Regions from separate parts of the Homo sapiens genome. Here regions 1, 2 and 3 are each linked to region 4. Evidence: promoter capture Hi-C in human tissues and cell types (Jung and others, 2019). All regions are on one chromosome and are shown on one strand. Each heading gives the region's core, a stretch centred on a gene start or on the middle of the fragment in contact. The rest is flanking DNA. Distances are from core to core; before and after follow the strand shown. Region 1 overlaps ARID1A (AT-rich interaction domain 1A). Region 2 overlaps ARID1A (AT-rich interaction domain 1A). Region 3 overlaps ARID1A (AT-rich interaction domain 1A). Region 4 holds the start of RPS6KA1 (ribosomal protein S6 kinase A1).

Evidence for each region. Contacts are between HindIII fragments. The study calls those that stand out against the background at their distance.
Region 1: a contact is called between a fragment that was not itself captured here and the fragment with the promoter of RPS6KA1 in region 4, in 1 of the 25 tissues and cell types used here (IMR-90 fibroblasts).
Region 2: a contact is called between a fragment that was not itself captured here and the fragment with the promoter of RPS6KA1 in region 4, in 3 of the 25 tissues and cell types used here (IMR-90 fibroblasts, dorsolateral prefrontal cortex and spleen).
Region 3: a contact is called between a fragment that was not itself captured here and the fragment with the promoter of RPS6KA1 in region 4, in 2 of the 25 tissues and cell types used here (dorsolateral prefrontal cortex and mesenchymal stem cells).

What each region holds. Positions count from the first base shown.
Region 1 is chr1:26,739,637-26,743,554 of GRCh38, reverse strand. All of the region lies in intron 4 of ARID1A (AT-rich interaction domain 1A), which reads right to left. Among named protein-coding and RNA genes, the nearest start is that of ARID1A, 46 kb to the right of the region's middle. RefSeq lists a silencer at 3,820-3,869. The HindIII fragment of the contact is 4,361 bases long and covers 1-3,918 here.
Region 2 is chr1:26,704,625-26,708,729 of GRCh38, reverse strand. The region is part of intron 1 of ARID1A (AT-rich interaction domain 1A); the gene reads right to left. Among named protein-coding and RNA genes, the nearest start is that of ARID1A, 11 kb to the right of the region's middle. RefSeq lists an enhancer at 815-1,314. The HindIII fragment of the contact is 8,241 bases long and covers 1-4,105 here.
Region 3 is chr1:26,768,369-26,772,081 of GRCh38, reverse strand. It overlaps ARID1A (AT-rich interaction domain 1A), which reads right to left. Exons shown (of 20, transcript NM_006015.6): 12 at 756-963. Among named protein-coding and RNA genes, the nearest start is that of PIGV, 18 kb to the left of the region's middle. The HindIII fragment of the contact is 7,519 bases long and covers 1-3,713 here.
Region 4 is chr1:26,528,007-26,531,973 of GRCh38, reverse strand. It overlaps RPS6KA1 (ribosomal protein S6 kinase A1), which reads right to left and starts at 2,213. Exons shown (of 22, transcript NM_002953.4): 1 at 1,991-2,213. The coding sequence starts at 2,053. It overlaps LOC124903884 (a long non-coding RNA gene), which reads left to right and starts at 576. Exons shown (of 2, transcript XR_007065558.1): 1 at 576-776; 2 at 1,413-2,854. RefSeq lists enhancers at 1-696, 697-1,607 and a silencer at 1,849-2,328. The HindIII fragment of the contact is 11,905 bases long and covers 1-3,967 here.

The DNA.
Region 1 (3,918 bases), core at 875-3,374, 210 kb before region 4:
CAAATGTTCTAATTTTTAAAGCATTTATTGAGAGGATTTGTCACTCCTCTCAATAAACCTAAACAACAAAACGTCAGCTCCCAAAGCTCAACTAGGTAGCAAGAATCTAGGAGGTATTCAACAAAGGTTTACAAATATCTGCCTGTTCTGGGCACAACATGACAGATGTCAGATACAGTTCAAGCAGAGGTACCAGCATAAGGCTATGCCAATATGAAAATGGGGAAGAAGTCTCAGAGAGAGTATTCCAGCTAGGTTTTGAAGCCAAAGTAGAAGTTTGCTGAGCATGACAGAAAGAGAGAGAAACAGGTATACATCCTAATCAAGAGGACCAGGAATTGTGAGGAGCTTAAGGTACAAATGAGTGGCTGGAGATGAAGTTGCAGAGGTATGCTGGGAGCTGTGGATGGCTCCACTATGGGTTCTGAACTGGGTAAGGCACTGGGAGCCAGGGTCCCCAAAACACGCACGAAACAACTGGTGGTGGTCTCCCACACTCAGAGATTACTTAAATATTACTGGATACAATCTGTAAAATTTATGACGTTCCAAAGCCCCAGCTTGATATTTTTTATATTTCTTTTTTTGAGACAGTCTCGCTCTGTCACATAGGCTGGAGTGCAGTGGCGCGACCTCAGCCCACTGCAACCTCCGCCTCTCGGGTTCAAGGGATTCTCCTGCCTCAGCTTCCTGAGTAGCTGGGATCACAGGTGCATGCCACCACGCCCAGCTAAATTTTTATATTTTTAGTAGAGATGGAGTTTCACCATATTGGTCAGGCTGCTCTCGAACTCCCGACCTCATGATCCACCCGCCTCAGCCTCCCACAGTGCTGGGATTACAGGTGTGAGCCACCGTGCCTGGCCTACCAGCTTGATATTTCATTTGAAAATTTTACTCTCAGCTCTCAGGGTCTCTGTGCTTCTAAACCATTAGACACATGAATCACTTAGAGATCTTATTAACAGTTAGATCCAATAAATCTAGGATGGGGCCTGAAAATCTACATTTCTAGCAAGCTTCCCGGTGATGTTGGTGCTTCTAGACAATGGACCACACTGAGTAGCAAGGATCTAACTGATTAAAGTTAGCACTGACCAGGACAGTATGTTCTAAGAAGACAGACACAGAACAGGGCTTGCTCTCATCCCACACAGGAACCAAATAACCAAACTCTAGTCAACGGTTCACTGTTTGAGGCGATTCCCTAGTTGGCTAGTTCCTCCAAGCAGGTCCTATAGGTTTGGCTATCTTTCCTACCACTCGCTCTTTCCACAGCTCATCTGTGCCTCCATCACAGGGATGTCTGGGAAAACAGAAGTAAAATGGAAATCCATTGACATTCCTTTTAGGACAAGTCTAGCAAATGCTAAATGGCAAAGAGTTGAGTTTTTTGCCTAAAAATGAAGAGAGGATCAGATTGTCCATGTCTTTCCTCTACTGGGTGGGATGCTGGAGGAAATATTTCACCTGAAATATCAGAGCTAGATTCAAATCTTGATTCTGACCCTTGGTTTTTCATATGTAAAACAGGAGTGGGTATTCTGTACCTTCCAATTCCTATCTTTTCAGAATAACTGATGTTGACTGTAGCTCCTTGCCTGGCCTTACTCCTGCCCTCTAAAATCTGGATTCTACAGGGACAGCATAGCTCCCTCGCATTTCCTCTTTCTAGACCAATGTAATTCCAAGATCTCAGCGTCTGAGAGCATTACAGAAGTAAAAATACGAAGGGTAATAGCTAAGATGTTAAGTGAAATCTAAAGAATGGCTCAGAAACTCAAGGGATAATTTGATAGACATTACAGATCCTAATTCTGTTCTCCACCTCCCTCCTGATATCGATAACATTCACTCCTACCTAACCTGAGGAAATGAGTATGATCCAATCTTCAACAACAGTCTTTAAGATTACCTTTTTTTCAGCCAAGGGTATAGCGTCCCTTAGAAATTAATCCAGTGGATGCCTTTGATTCCTTTTTCTCACAACTCCAGAAAGATGTGCCTGTTTATACCCTCCTAATATTCTGCCAGCACCTTCACTTTTCCCTCTTCCATCTGCCTTATACACATGCGGGTCTTTGGGATGAAGCGGAGGAATTGGACTGATTCAGCCAGACTCTCCTTTTTCTCAGTGCATTTCAAGAGTGCTCTTTCCCTTTCCCTTGCTCATTTCCTTTTCTCAAGCCCTCAGAAATAAGGCCTTTTCCTTATCTAAAAAGGATCCCAATAAAATGCTTTATGACAAACCCAACTACCTATTTTCTTTGAAATATAAATTTGACTTCGTCCCTCCTCCCTTGGCTTCCAGAAATATTACACAATCCTGGTCCTTCTCCGATCTCTCCAACTCTCTGTTGGCTGCTTCTACCTGATGGCCTCCGGCATCGTCCAGAGCTCCATCTGGCTTCTATCTCTAAACTCCAGTTTAGGAGGCCTGTTTCATTCTATGGTTTAACTATTAACTACCACACAGGTAACTCGCAAACTTGTATCCAGACTCAGGTCTTACCCAAGTTTCAGTTTCTTATCTCCAACTAGAAACTGGACATTTGTTTTCAGAAATCTTACTATATTATATTCCACAAAATAAATATGGAATTTAACTTTTCCTCAAAAATGAGACTCCCCCTGCCCACCAGTCAATCAAAATCTTTAAATATTCCACCACACAGAACCCACTTATTCTCAGTCCTGTATTCTTTCCTGCATGTTCCACATGTGGGAGCAGGTGGCTATGCAAATGAGACAGAAGGACCAGAACTCCATACCTCTTGCCAGAAGTAGTTCTACGGTTTAACTTATTCCACTGCTTTAAGACTCTCCCGTTTTCAAAGCATACTACAAACTAATGGATCATTTTTGTAAAACATTAGTTTTATCACATGATTGCCCCAGTTACCTATCTGCAAGCCCATAAGATCAGATCTAAATGGCTTAAGCTCAGCAGGATCCCTGTGATCTAGCTTTCCTTCCTGTTACTTCCCACCCCTGGAAGCTGACCAGCCCCCAAGTATCTATACTGCACCTCATCCCCATCCCTGCATGGCCTCTGTTCAAGCTGGACTTTCCCTTTGTAACTAACCACTTAAATACATCCACATCTAGCTCATACTGACTGAACTTCAACATGACTTCTTCCTTCAACTATTGAGACATAAATGGATCAGTGACTTCACCAAACTCTGACAGCACTCATTATAACATACAGGCACATGGTCTTCTGTTTTATGTCTATTTTACTAATGAAACACAGGAGGATCCTTTAGGAATCATCGTATCATATTCGGAATCATGGACCCAAGAGTTCAAATGACCTCAGAAGTCACACAAGTTCAACCCTTGTCAAATGTCTGTTTGTCTTCTACATAACACCCATAGCAAAAAGTGTGCCAGGTTTTACTCCAGGGACAGGAAACTTACCTACATCTCTCCTCATCCTCCAGATCCCAAAAAAACTTACTTGTATGTCACACTTGGACTTAAATCTACAGACAACACGTAGCCAGGTTTTAAAGCATTAACATAACTTGGCCAGGTTTTTTTTTTCTTTTTTTTTTTTTTTAAGATGATCACTCTGGTGATTATGCTGAGGACAGACTTGGAAGGAAAAGAGGAAGAAAAGAAACAGAACAGTCAGAAGTTTGTGGCAAGACACCAGGTGAGAGATAACAGGGACCCGAAAAAACAAAAGGCAGTGGAGAAAGAGAGGGGAAACCAGATTCAAAAGCAAAAACCATTTCTGTGGTAGACTAAGATTTGGTGACCAACTAAGTTTGGCCCCACTAAAGGAAGGGATCCAGTGATGAGCACCATAGAGCAGAGGAGCTCCCAGGGTGGTACTGGCAGGGCAAGGGCTCCGTTACCCAGGAATAAACTGCACTGAGGCCACAGCTACAGGAAGTCTAGTTTCTTTCA
Region 2 (4,105 bases), core at 1,530-4,029, 180 kb before region 4:
GAGCAAAGACTCCATCTCAAAAGAAAAAAAAAGACAATAATCCCTGCCTCTTCAGCAAGTGCTCCAAGTTTCTGGAAAAGTAATATCACTCTGCATATACTTTCATAATTCAAGTCACTTTCACTCAGATCAAAGTGAAAGACTCTGGCTGGGTGCGGTGGCTCGCACCTGTAATCCCAGCACTTTGGGAGGCCGAGGCAGGTGGATCACAAGGTCAGGAGTTCAGGACCAGCCTGACCAACACAGTGAAACCCCATCTCTACTAAAAATACAAAAAATTACCTGGGCGTGGTGGTGGGCACCTGTAATCCCAGCTACTCAGGAGGCTGAGGCAGAAGAATCACTTGAACCCAGGAGGCAGAGGTTACAGTGAGCCGAGATCACGCCACTGCAATCCAGCCTGGGCGACAGTGCAAGACTCCGTCTCAAAAAAAAAAAAAAAAAAAAAAAAAAAAAAAAAAAAGTGAAGGACTGTATCTTAAAGGCTGAATCTCACTCTCAACCCCAAAAGATCCCTCTTGAGAAAGAGAGGACCGGGGACCAGAGGACCAGATGCTGCCAGTTCTCACCAATGGAATCACAAGGCAGCTATAAACCAAGTGCCATGGCCATTCATCGGAAATCCAAAACAACAAAACCCTAAGTGGAAGGGATGGAAGGGAATGACAGGACAGAGCTCTAGGCACGATGTCAAATTGTTAACTAATGGCTTTTCAGTCTTTCACCCCATTTAAGAGTTTCAGGCTATTGTAAAAATAATGTCCTAAACAATCTTGGTGCCTGAGTAATTTATTTTGGAGAAGCAAAGTTAGTATTTTAGATTGTAATACCTTTGAAGAGTCAGACAAACCTTGTCTACCTTGTCAGACAAACCCAACTCTACCTTTTACCAGCTATTTTCCCTAGGGCAAATTTCTTATCTTACTCTATTTCCTCATTTGTAAAAGAGGAAGATTAATAATAGAACCCACCTCCTATACAGTTTTGAAGATTAAATTAGGAAATTCATCAAGAGGACTAAGCATAATGCTTAGCACATAATAAGTACTCAAATGCATGGTGGCCATCATTTGAAAGTCAGGATCCTTGCCAGGCACAGTGGCTCACGCCTGTAATCCCAGCACTTTGGGAGGTCAAAGCCGGCGGATCACCTGAGGTCAGGAGTTCGAGACTAGCCTAGCCAACATGGTGAAACCCCATCTCTACTAAAAATACAAACATTAGGCCGGGCGTGGTGGCTTATGCCTGTAATCCCAGCACTTTGGGAGGCCGAGACGGGTAGATCACGAGCTCAGGAGTTTCAGACCAGCCTGGCCAGCATGATGAAACCCCATCTCTACTAAAAATACAAAAATTAGCAGGGCGTGGTGGAAGGCGCCTGTAGTCCCAGCTACTCGGGAGGCTGTGGCAGGAGAATCACTTGAACCTGGGAGACGGAGGTTGCAGTGAGCCGAGATCACACCACTGGACTCCAGCCTGGGCGATAGAACAAGACTCCATCTCAAAAAAAAAAAAAAAAAAAAAAAAAATTAGCCAGCCGCGGTGGCGCATGCCTGTAGTCCCAGCTACTCAGGAGACTGAGGCAGGAGAACCCCTTGAACCCAGGAGGCGGAGACTGCAGTGAGCTGAAATTGCCCCACTGCACTGCACTCCAGCCTGGGTGACAGAGCAAGACTCCGTCTAAAAAAAAAAAAAAGTCAGGATCCTGGTGAGGATCTGTGACCCAAGAACAGATAAACTACCTACAGAATTGTTCCCCAAAAGCTTTGTAATATGGTTCTCTTTAGAAGCCTAAATTCCTAAACAAGCACAATGTTAGAAATCTGGAGACTAAAAGCCGGTTATCCAAACCTAAATTACCAAGAGTTTCACATAACGCTAGATCAACCTGTGAACTCCAACACCTTAGGACCAGAACAGAATGTTGTCCAAAGGGCAAGAGAAAAAGACATACATATTTGCCAAAGAGACACAGTAATAAACCAATTCCCAGCATTTCTGCCCTGTTCTCTAAGGACAACAGAAAGCAACAATGTCTACCCCAGACAGGAGAAATCACTGGGCAAGAAGAGCCCAAAGATATATCTGTTTCTTCCAAAAGGAAGCATCCAACACTATGTGGCCTTTAATCCCTCTACCACGTGGCTGAATTTGCACTTTTCTTAAAGTCAAAGTACACGGCAGTTGAGAGTAAACAGCTGGGCCCAAAGGCACTCATGCCCGGCAAGCACGTTGTGACCTCAAAGAAAACATGAGCAAAATAAAAACACCAAGCACACACCAAATGGGCTTTTAATTGACTGATATCACAACAACCCCCAAGCACCCCTGGTGCTAGATCTTAAGGGGAAAAGAAGGGTTCCTTTTAACAGAGATGCCTATAAACAAGCAAGCTGAAAACGAACAAGTTTAAGAGAGAAAAGCATACAAAAATCTTGGCTGCTAGTGATGAGCCATGGAAAATCATGAATCTGCCAGTGCCAAGGGAGGAGGAAGTCTAATATCTAACTTTGCAGACTTGGGAACATAAAAGCAACAAAGCCATAAGGAAGCCCAAATGCAAAAGAGAGAAAAAAAGGCACATGGCACATTTCCTCTTCATATGGGTAGCAATTCAAGCAGCGCTTTGGGCCTGCAGAGCACTTAGCTCAGTACCCAAAGCCCCTTAGTATTTATATCAACATAACTTCCTGGAGGGTGACAAAAATCTGTCCTGGATTACTGGGTGATTTCTAATATGTACCATGACCAACACTAAGTCAACATTTTAGGGATCAAATTTCCTACTCTGCAGCATGTTGGAATGCATTCTTGGCATTAGACTTCTTCCCATTCCAGTCCACCCTTAGAAAATGCAGAAGCCACTGGGAAATAGACTCAACCTGTCCCAAGATAATATTCCAGCTATGCACAAGTGACTAACAAAAACAAACAGAAGTTCATTCAGATGTCCCTTCACATTCAGTAAAAAACTAATTTCATCCATTTAAATGGAGAGGAGGGGTAATTTCAGGAAGAATACTCAAGGCTACTAAGTCAATATTCACCCGAACTTGGATTCCTCTAAAACCTGGGAATGATCAGAGTTCAAGCCCCTAAACACCTGTAATCCATAGGAGGTTAACTATGGTGCCCAATTCTGAGTAACTGAAAACCCACTTTTGCAAAATGCCAAAATGGCAAGGCAAAAAAAGTGGAAAAGGTATTTCTAAACCAGAATGTTTATCCAAGACTCCAGTACTTTCAGCAGGTCATGGACCATTACTTGAGGGGGGGGGAAAAAAAAAAAAGGCTGGGCGTGGTGGCTCACACCTGTAATTCCAGCACTTTGGAAGGCCAAGGTGGGTGGATCACACCCGAGGTTGGGAGTTCAAGACCAGCCTGGCCAACATGATGAAACCCCACCTCTACTAAAAATACAAAAATTAGCCGGGCATGGTGGTGGAAGCCTATAATCCCAGCTACTCAGGAGGCTGAGGCATGAGAATCGCTTGAACCTGGGAGGCAGAGGTTGCAATGAGCCAGATTGCACCACTGTACTCCAGTCTGGGTGACAAAGTAAGACTCCATCTCAAAAAAAAAAAAAGGTCTGCAGTACTTCTGTACTGGAGCAGTGTAACCAATCCTTCTCCAGGTAGAAGCATTACAGTGGCCTGGCACTGGACATGCCATGCATCTTCAGCTGTTAAGCATCCACTGATGATCCTTGACCGGTGAAGTGCCAAGGCCCAACCACAGATCGACCAGCAGGTAAAGAAACCAAAATCACTATATTCCAGAGGCTCCACAAGGATTAAGCATTGGTGAGCAGCATTTGTTAGCTGCTTGGCCATAGTAACCTAATAAAAAACAAATTTTTTTTTTTTTTTTGAGACAAGGTCTTGGCTCCATTGCCCAGGCTGGAGTGCACTGGCGTAATCATGGCTTACAACAGCCTCAACCTCCTGGGCTCAAGCAATCCTCCTGCCTCAGCTTTCTAAGTAAACTGCGACTACAGGCACGTACCACCACATCCAGCAATTTTTGTGTCTTGTAAAGATGGGGTCTCCCTATGTTAATAGCCTGGTCCCAAGGCTGGTCCTGGGCTTGGGCAATCCTCCCACCT
Region 3 (3,713 bases), core at 997-3,496, 240 kb before region 4:
GAGCTCCTGTTCTAAAGCATCCAGCATGGTGTCACTCCTCAACTTCAAATGTTCTTCTAAGCTGATGAGTACAAAACTACTAGTAATTAATGTTTCCAATAGTTACCATTCCCAGCAGTAGATATCCCACTGCTGAGGCCTCCCCAGCTGATGAGTCATCTCAGGCACTCATTACACCCTCAGAGGTCAACACCAGGGCACATGTGTTTACACCCACCTTCCAGGCACCCTGGCCTTCTTCCCTCTCTAGGCTCACCCTAGGCCTCAGCCTCCTCTCAGAAAGGAGGGTGAGCAGAGCCACTCCCATCAGGGAGTTCCATTCATAACCCTTCCCCACTCCCTCCTTCCCATTCATTACCATCTCAGCTCCCTGGGGAATTCAGGGCTCTAGTCTGAGCTGCATTCTAAGGTGCTGACATCAATAGGCCAAAGCTCCCAGATGGCCCTGCCTTGCTGCCATTTATAAGTTCCACCGACTCCTCTTGTGCCCCTCCCATTCACCAGTTTACAAACATTTGGCAAGTTGTCAGCTGCACAACAAAAATTAAAACTTAAGAGCTGCCGTAGAGTACCTCCCAAGGGAGTTTCCACTGCCCACTCTCTAGTCAGCCAACCTGTTAAGCCCTGTGGTAGGGCAAGGCAGAGCACAGATCCTTGGCATATCCTGTTGGATAAGCCTCTTATTCATATCCTGAATAAGAGGCCAGGGCAACAGGCCCTCTCAGCCTTGGTGGGGCCGCTGACCCCATCCTTACCAGGAGAGGGAGGCTGGATCTTGGGCTGGGACTTCTTGGAATCAGCAGCTGCAAAGATGTCTGGGGGAGGGTCTTCTCCCCGTTCAATCTTGCATTCAAAGGCATAGAGACACTGGATATACTGCTTTTTCAAGGAGCTGGCAGCACTGCTTGATGTGCCCACATTGAGGTTGGTTGCAAGTTCCCGCCATTTTTTGTTCTTGTTGACCTGTATAACCAAACCAAAGGAGTCGAGGTATATCTCCCGCCTGGTTTTCCTGCCCATAAGCCCCAAGCCCCATCAGGCTGTAAGGTATTCATCTTTGTAGAACCACAGTTCTTAGGTAATTGAAAAAGTTAATCTTGCTTGGTGGATAGTCCACAAGAAGTGTTAAATCTGCAGCTGGCTTCATTTTACCCTCAGGATGTTCCACTGCAACTATCAGACTGTGCTTATTCACAACAGGGCAAATTTCACATTACTACTGGAACAGAATTCAGAGTCCGGTTTTTTAGTACGCTGCTAAAAAGTGGTGTACAAATCATCTGGATATCTAAATCCTATTTTATTTATTTATTTTTGAGACAGAAAAAATAAATCTCGCTCTGTCGCCTAGGCTGGAGTGCAGTGGCGTGATCTTGGCTCGCTGTAACCTCTGCCTCCCGGGCTCAAGCGATTCTCTTATCTCAGCCTCCCGAGTAGCTGGGATTACAGGTGTGCACCACCACGCCTGGCTAATTTTTGTATTTTTAGTAGAGACGGGGTTTCACCATGTTGATCAGGCTGGTCTCAAACTCCTGGCGTCAAGTCATCTACCCGCCTCAGCCTCCCAAAGTGTTGGGATTACAGGCGTGAGCCACCGCGCCTGGCCCTAAATCCTATTTTAGATGCACTAATAAAAACTAACATTTTATAAAATGGAGACTCATGATAATATCAGTGACCACCCTGCTTGACTTGCTTTGTCAAACTTGGGATTTACTCATATTTTTTTCTTGGGGTGGTGGCTCCCTGCAAATTTGACATTCTTGTGCCACTGCTCCCCTACATATCTCATTGACAAATAACCACAGGTCCCTTTCCCTTACCAGTCACTGTCCTGATGGTCCGGGTGTTCAGGGTCTTATTTATTTAGAGACAGAGTCTCACTCTGTCACCCAGGCTCGAGTGTAGTGACGCCATTTCGGCTCACTGCAACCTCCGCCTCCCGTGTTCAAGTGATTCTCCTGCCTTAGCCTCCCAAGTAGTGGGACCACAGGTGCCTGTCACCACACCCCACTGATTTTTATATTTTTAGTAGAGACAAGGTTTGGCCATGTTGGCCAGGCTGGTCTCAAACTCCTGACCTCAGATGATCCGCCCGTCTCGGCCTCCCAAAGTGCTGGGATTACAGGTGTGAGCCACTGCGCCTGGCCCGGGGCCTTATTATGACTTTTGTACCTCCCGAGCAGCCAACCTACAGTTCTGCCTCCTTCCCTCAGCTTCAGGGCACACTGACCAAGCCCATTCCCCAGATGCTCCCTACAATTAGTCTTTCTGCTCTAGCTGGACAGGTCTCCTTCTTCATGTATTCTTATGCTTATTCATCTACCATATGGTAAGCCTGTTCCCCCAAGGCCTGGGAACAAGGGTTTTCAAGTCCCTATACACAAAGGAAGTTCAATAGGTTGTAATGTCTGCTGATATGATACCTATGATACTAGAAAGAAGAGTTTAAAGAGGCACAGAGGGGGACAACCTAGAGGGGCAGAGGTGACTAGGAATACTTCTTAGAGTGGGTAACACCTGAGCTAAGTCTTCATGGTTGGAGATGGCCTTGGTGGGAAATATCTAGACTCTCTCCCATCTCCGTGGCATCTAGGCCAGTCTACTGGATTGGCCACTCTTCCACCTAAACCCTACTAATCCTTTAGATAAGCTCAAGATTCAGCTTTGCTTTCTTGGAGCCTTCACAAACTAACTTATAAATAGCACTCTTTTGCCCCTGAATTATCACTGCCTTTATAAAAGTTCAGTTACAATCACGGCATTTTAAAGGTTTGCATCCTTTTCCAATCTGGAAGACAGGCTCAGGCATTAGAATTCTCTCTGTACCTCATCCTAGGTTCAGTGAACCCTGAAGCCCACCCAATCAGAAGTGAGCGAAACCTAACCCAATGCTCCCTTTCCCTATAGACAGGGAAGGCTTGACTATGAGATCTGAGTATCAGGGAGAATGGCAGGAATATGCATGGAGTCACCTCAAAAGCCTTCCGTGGCTTTGCTTCTCATGCCAGTTATGTGGCAGTATGCACGTGTCTTATTTTGTTTTGTTTTCCTTTGTGGGGGAGGGGAATAAAGCCTGAAGGGAGAAGGAATTCATAACTGACTGTTGGCTGGCTTCATTCCAACCACTTTCTTTTCTGCTGGTGACAGCTGTTTTCCTCTTCTGATTTAGAAGGTTTGGAATAAATCCCTCCCTGCCACACCTCCCCGAGCTCAGCCACAAACTGATCCAACAGCAGGCTTCTGGTCTGGTGACTACAGAACATACACAGGAGGGAAGTCTGCAAGGCACAGTCTGCTGTCTGTCTGTGCTGCCTCACCTGTTTGCTTCCTGGGCTGAGTCTACAAAATTGTAAGGTATCAGAGTAGGCACAAGCTCTGGGTGGTGTCCAATTCAGGTTTTCATTTAAGTTTCCCATACAGAATAACTAAACACATAATTTCCTACTACTTCTTCCTTTATTATAAACTATTTCTACTAAGCAGTTCCTGAAATCCTATCTCTACTGGGAAGCTTCCAGGAATGGGAAGATCTACTTCTACTCTGGCTGCCTCTGTACCATCTTGCAGGCCGATTTATGTGGCAGAAACCTTGCTGAAAGCCAAAGTTATTTCTAACTTTTGACAGTCTAGTGGGTTATATACTGTTACATACTGTTTGTATTTTACAAATAATGAAATTAAGGTTCAGAGTGGTTACACACCTTAAGGTC
Region 4 (3,967 bases), core at 964-3,463:
TTACATGTCACCTGGGCTAAGAACAGCGAGGCCCTGTTCTCCAGTGAGAACAGCCCAACCTGCGCCGTGGCTGCCCTGTGGCTCCTGTTACCCAAACAATAACACCCAGTCGCCTGGCACCTCCAGGAGTGGGGGAGGGGGGACCAGACAACAGTACCCAGCGCTCTGCACCCTCTCAGGCCCAGGAAGTGGAGGCTAGAACCTAGCACTTGCCACTGGAGAAGCAGAGGCCCAGACAGGCTGAGGACTGACTGAGGATCACACATCGTTTCTGGAGCGAAGCTCCTGAGGAAATTGCGTCCCCCTGCCCCACCAATCCCAGGAAGTCCGCTGGTCTTCCCCTCTCACAGACCTGAGATGTTACAGAACTCAAAACTGAGATGAGTTTCCCAGTTAAACCTGGCTCCCTGGTGAAGCTGGCCCCTGCCTCAGGATTCCCTAAAGAGAAGCAGGAAGTGGTGCCCCAGGATCGAGCTCCTGGGTGTCCACCCTCCCTATCAGCATAAAGTCACTCCCCAGCCTCTCCCAGCCCTACCTTCTCCTTTGGAGGCCTGGTCCCAGGGGCGTGCCTGGGCAAAGGAATCCACCTCTGAGCACCACCCCCAGGACCTTGCGCCCCGGTCCTAGTAGCGGGGTGGCAGTACAGGGGCTGCAGAGGGCAGTGTTCCTCACCTCAGAGGGTGAGTCAGCGAGAGAACCTCTGAGCAGCCTAGCAGTGCCTGTAAAATCCCCATGGCAGGAATCCCAGAGCAATTTACTCCAAATTGCTCCTTCAGGTTGGTTACCTAATCCTGCCGCGCCCACCCTCCAATAGCCAGTGTCGGCCATCCCTTTAAAGGGGCAGCACACCCTGGGGGCTGGGGACCCTGGGTGCTCACCCTGATCTAAGCCTGTGGTCCTGAGAGGCAGGACACTTGGTGGCTGCCCTAGGTAAGAGAGGGCAGAGGAGGGGACTGAGACAGGGGCTCCAGGCCCAAGCTGGGAGAAAGTCATCTCAGCTCCTGGGCTCAAATGAGGTCTCCATTCCCTCCCTGCATACCCCCAACAACCACCTGGGAAGGAGAATATCACCTGCTTCCTTCCCAGCAAGAGGTTAAGGAGGAAGTTTTCCACCAGCTCATTCAGGGGCTTGACCTTGACCCTGGGGTCAAAAGGCACAGGAAGAGGTGGCCTTCTGCACGCTTAGGGACTGGAGCCACAGAGCCCTCAAGGGAGGTCAGGAGCTGCTTCTGAGAGAGAAGGAGCTGGGTTGTCTGGGGAGTCTGGGCTGGCAGAAGCCAAACTCCCCAAGGGCCCAGCCCTTCCTACCGGAAGGGGCATAAGAAGGGAGGCAGGCACCAAGGTCCCCCCACGCCCTGCCAGGAATCATCTTCACAAGGTCTAAGGGCTCTTCCCCACTCTCGTCTCCACAGCCTGGGGTAGGGCACACAGGTGTCCTCTGGCCCTAGCCTCAGGGCAAAGAAAACCAGGAGTTCCAGCCCCAGACGGGTGGTGCCATCCCACACTCCGCATCCGCCAGGGGTCAAGAGGAGCAATCCTTCTAGGCTCAGCAGCGGTGAAGCCAGAAGCAGGGAGCTCTTGGCGGAGGGCCCTGGGAGAAGTGGGGGTCCCATAACCCCTGTCTCTGGTAGAATCCCAGACATCTGGCACTGAAGATCTCCCCGTCTGCATTAATGGAGGAAGCTCCGACAGCTCTGGACAGATGCCGGGACGGGTCCTAGGTGTGGGGTGAAGGCGACCAGATCTCAGCGCCCCATAGGATCCCCTCTCCTGGCTATGGCGGGGAGGTAGTCGGCGCTTGGCGGAACTGTCCCTCGCACACGCACACCCGGGCATAGGGGGGTGGAGCCGGACAGTGGGCAAGAGATCGGAGGGCACTCGCGCCCTCGCGGGCGCCCGCCGGACTGCAGCGGCGCTTCGGGCCGCCCCGCCCCTGTGAGGATCCGGGCTCGCCGGCCGCGGGCGCCCGTCCCCCGCCCCGCTCACTCACCTCCGGGTCCAGAGGCACTAGCTCCATGAGCGGCCAGGGCTCCTTGAGCTGGGCGAGCGGCATCTCGCCGCCGCCAGGTCACCCGCGCTCCTCCGGCGGCCCCGGCTGCGCCGCCTCCCGGGTCCTGGGGTCCCTGGCTCTGCGACCCGAACCGCCGCGCCCCCCCGAGCCCCTCGCGCTCCGGCTGGGCCGTCCGCCGCCGCCGCCGCGGCACTAGCACTTCGGCTCCCTCCGTCACCCGGCGCCGCCGCGCCCATTGGCTACCTGCGCGGGGGCGGAGCCGGAGAAGCCCCGCCCCAGCCCCCGCGGCGCGGCATTCCCAGCGCGGACCCCCGCCCCCGCCGCGCCCCGAGGGCCGGCCCCGCCCCTGCCGCGAGCCCCCGGCCCGCGCTCGGCTCCGCCGGAGAGGCCCTGCTGGCTCCTTCCCTTCCAGTGGTGTACCCCTGGACACACCACACCAGGGCCACCGTTCTCCCCCGCTCAGCTCTTTTGGAATCCCAGCCCAGATGTTCCTTCTCCTTCCAACGGGAGAGAAGCACCTTATCCCCGACCCCAGCACACACATTCACACTGGGTTCCTGGGCCTGATCTAGGCTGAGGCTTGGAAGGAGCCTGAGACCCACTCCCCTTAGGCCCTCAACTCACCAGGCCCTAGAGATCCCCTATCCTCTAATTTCTACCCCGCCCTGAAGCTAACACTGTGATCTCCGGGCGATCTCAGTGCCCCAGGCCAAGATGGGCATCAGCAGTTGTTACCACCATCAGGACCCATAGTGCCACCACAGAGTGATTGATTGATCGATTGATTTTACATAATGTATATAAATATTACATATATAAATAAATATGTATAAATAAATATTATATATATGCACATATATGTATGTATGTGTGTATATAGTGAGAGAGAGAGAGACACGAAGTTTCGCTTTGTTACCTAGGCTGGTCTCTGACTCCCCGGCTCAAGTGATCCTCCTGCCTCGGCCTCCCAAAGTGCTGGGATTACAGGCATGAGCCACCGCGCCCGGCCAAGAGTGATTTCTTAATATGCGTTTTTGCAATCTGTGCTCTGCCCTATCACTTGAAGGGGGTCCTTTCAGGTCAGGTCTCCCTGGAGTCACCTGCAGCCCCAGCTCTGGACTAGTTTGGGTTTGCGACTCTCTGAGGAGGGACCAGGCTCCCAGGATGAACCGAGGCTTGGTGGGACTTGGAGTGAAAGGCCAGGGAGACTGGTTGCCCCAGAGAGATTCAGCCTCCACCTAAAGAGCCTTAGGGGTCCGGGTGTGCTGAGATGTATTCACATGTGAGGAGTGAGCTTGCTGGAGGGACAAGCTTGCTGGTTTCGCAGGAAGACTGGTCAGTTATTTGCAAAGCTGTTCTAAGGCAGGGGAATGGGAAGGAATGTTTATCAAAAGCTTCCTGCGAGCCATGTGATTTCCTTGAATGATTACCACCACCTAGTTTACAAATCCTGAAACAAGCTCGGAAAGATGAAGTGACTTACCCAAGGTCACACAAGAGGTTGAGAACAGACTAGGGCTTAAAAAAATCAAAGTGTCACACCTGTAATCCCAGCACTGGGAGGCCGAGGCGGGCGGATCACGAGGTCAGGAGATTGAAACCATCCTGGCTAACATGATGAAACCCTGTCTCTACTAAAAATACAAAAAATTAGTAGGGCGTGGTGGCAGGCACCTGTAGTCCCAGCTACTCGGGAGGCTTAGGCAGGAGAATGGTGTGAACCCGGGAGGCGGAGCTTGCAGTAAGCGGAGATAGCCCCCACTGCACTCCAGCCTGGGCGACAGAGACTCCATCTCAAAAAAAAAAAAATCAAAGTGGATAAGGATTTCTCCAGAATCCACGTGCTCCCCCTTTTCCATGGCTTTCCCAGGGTAGGACCTCAGCTGTTGAACTGAATTTTGAGTGAAAGGACTTTGGAACCCAACAATTCTGGGTTTGAATTCCAGCTCTGCTACC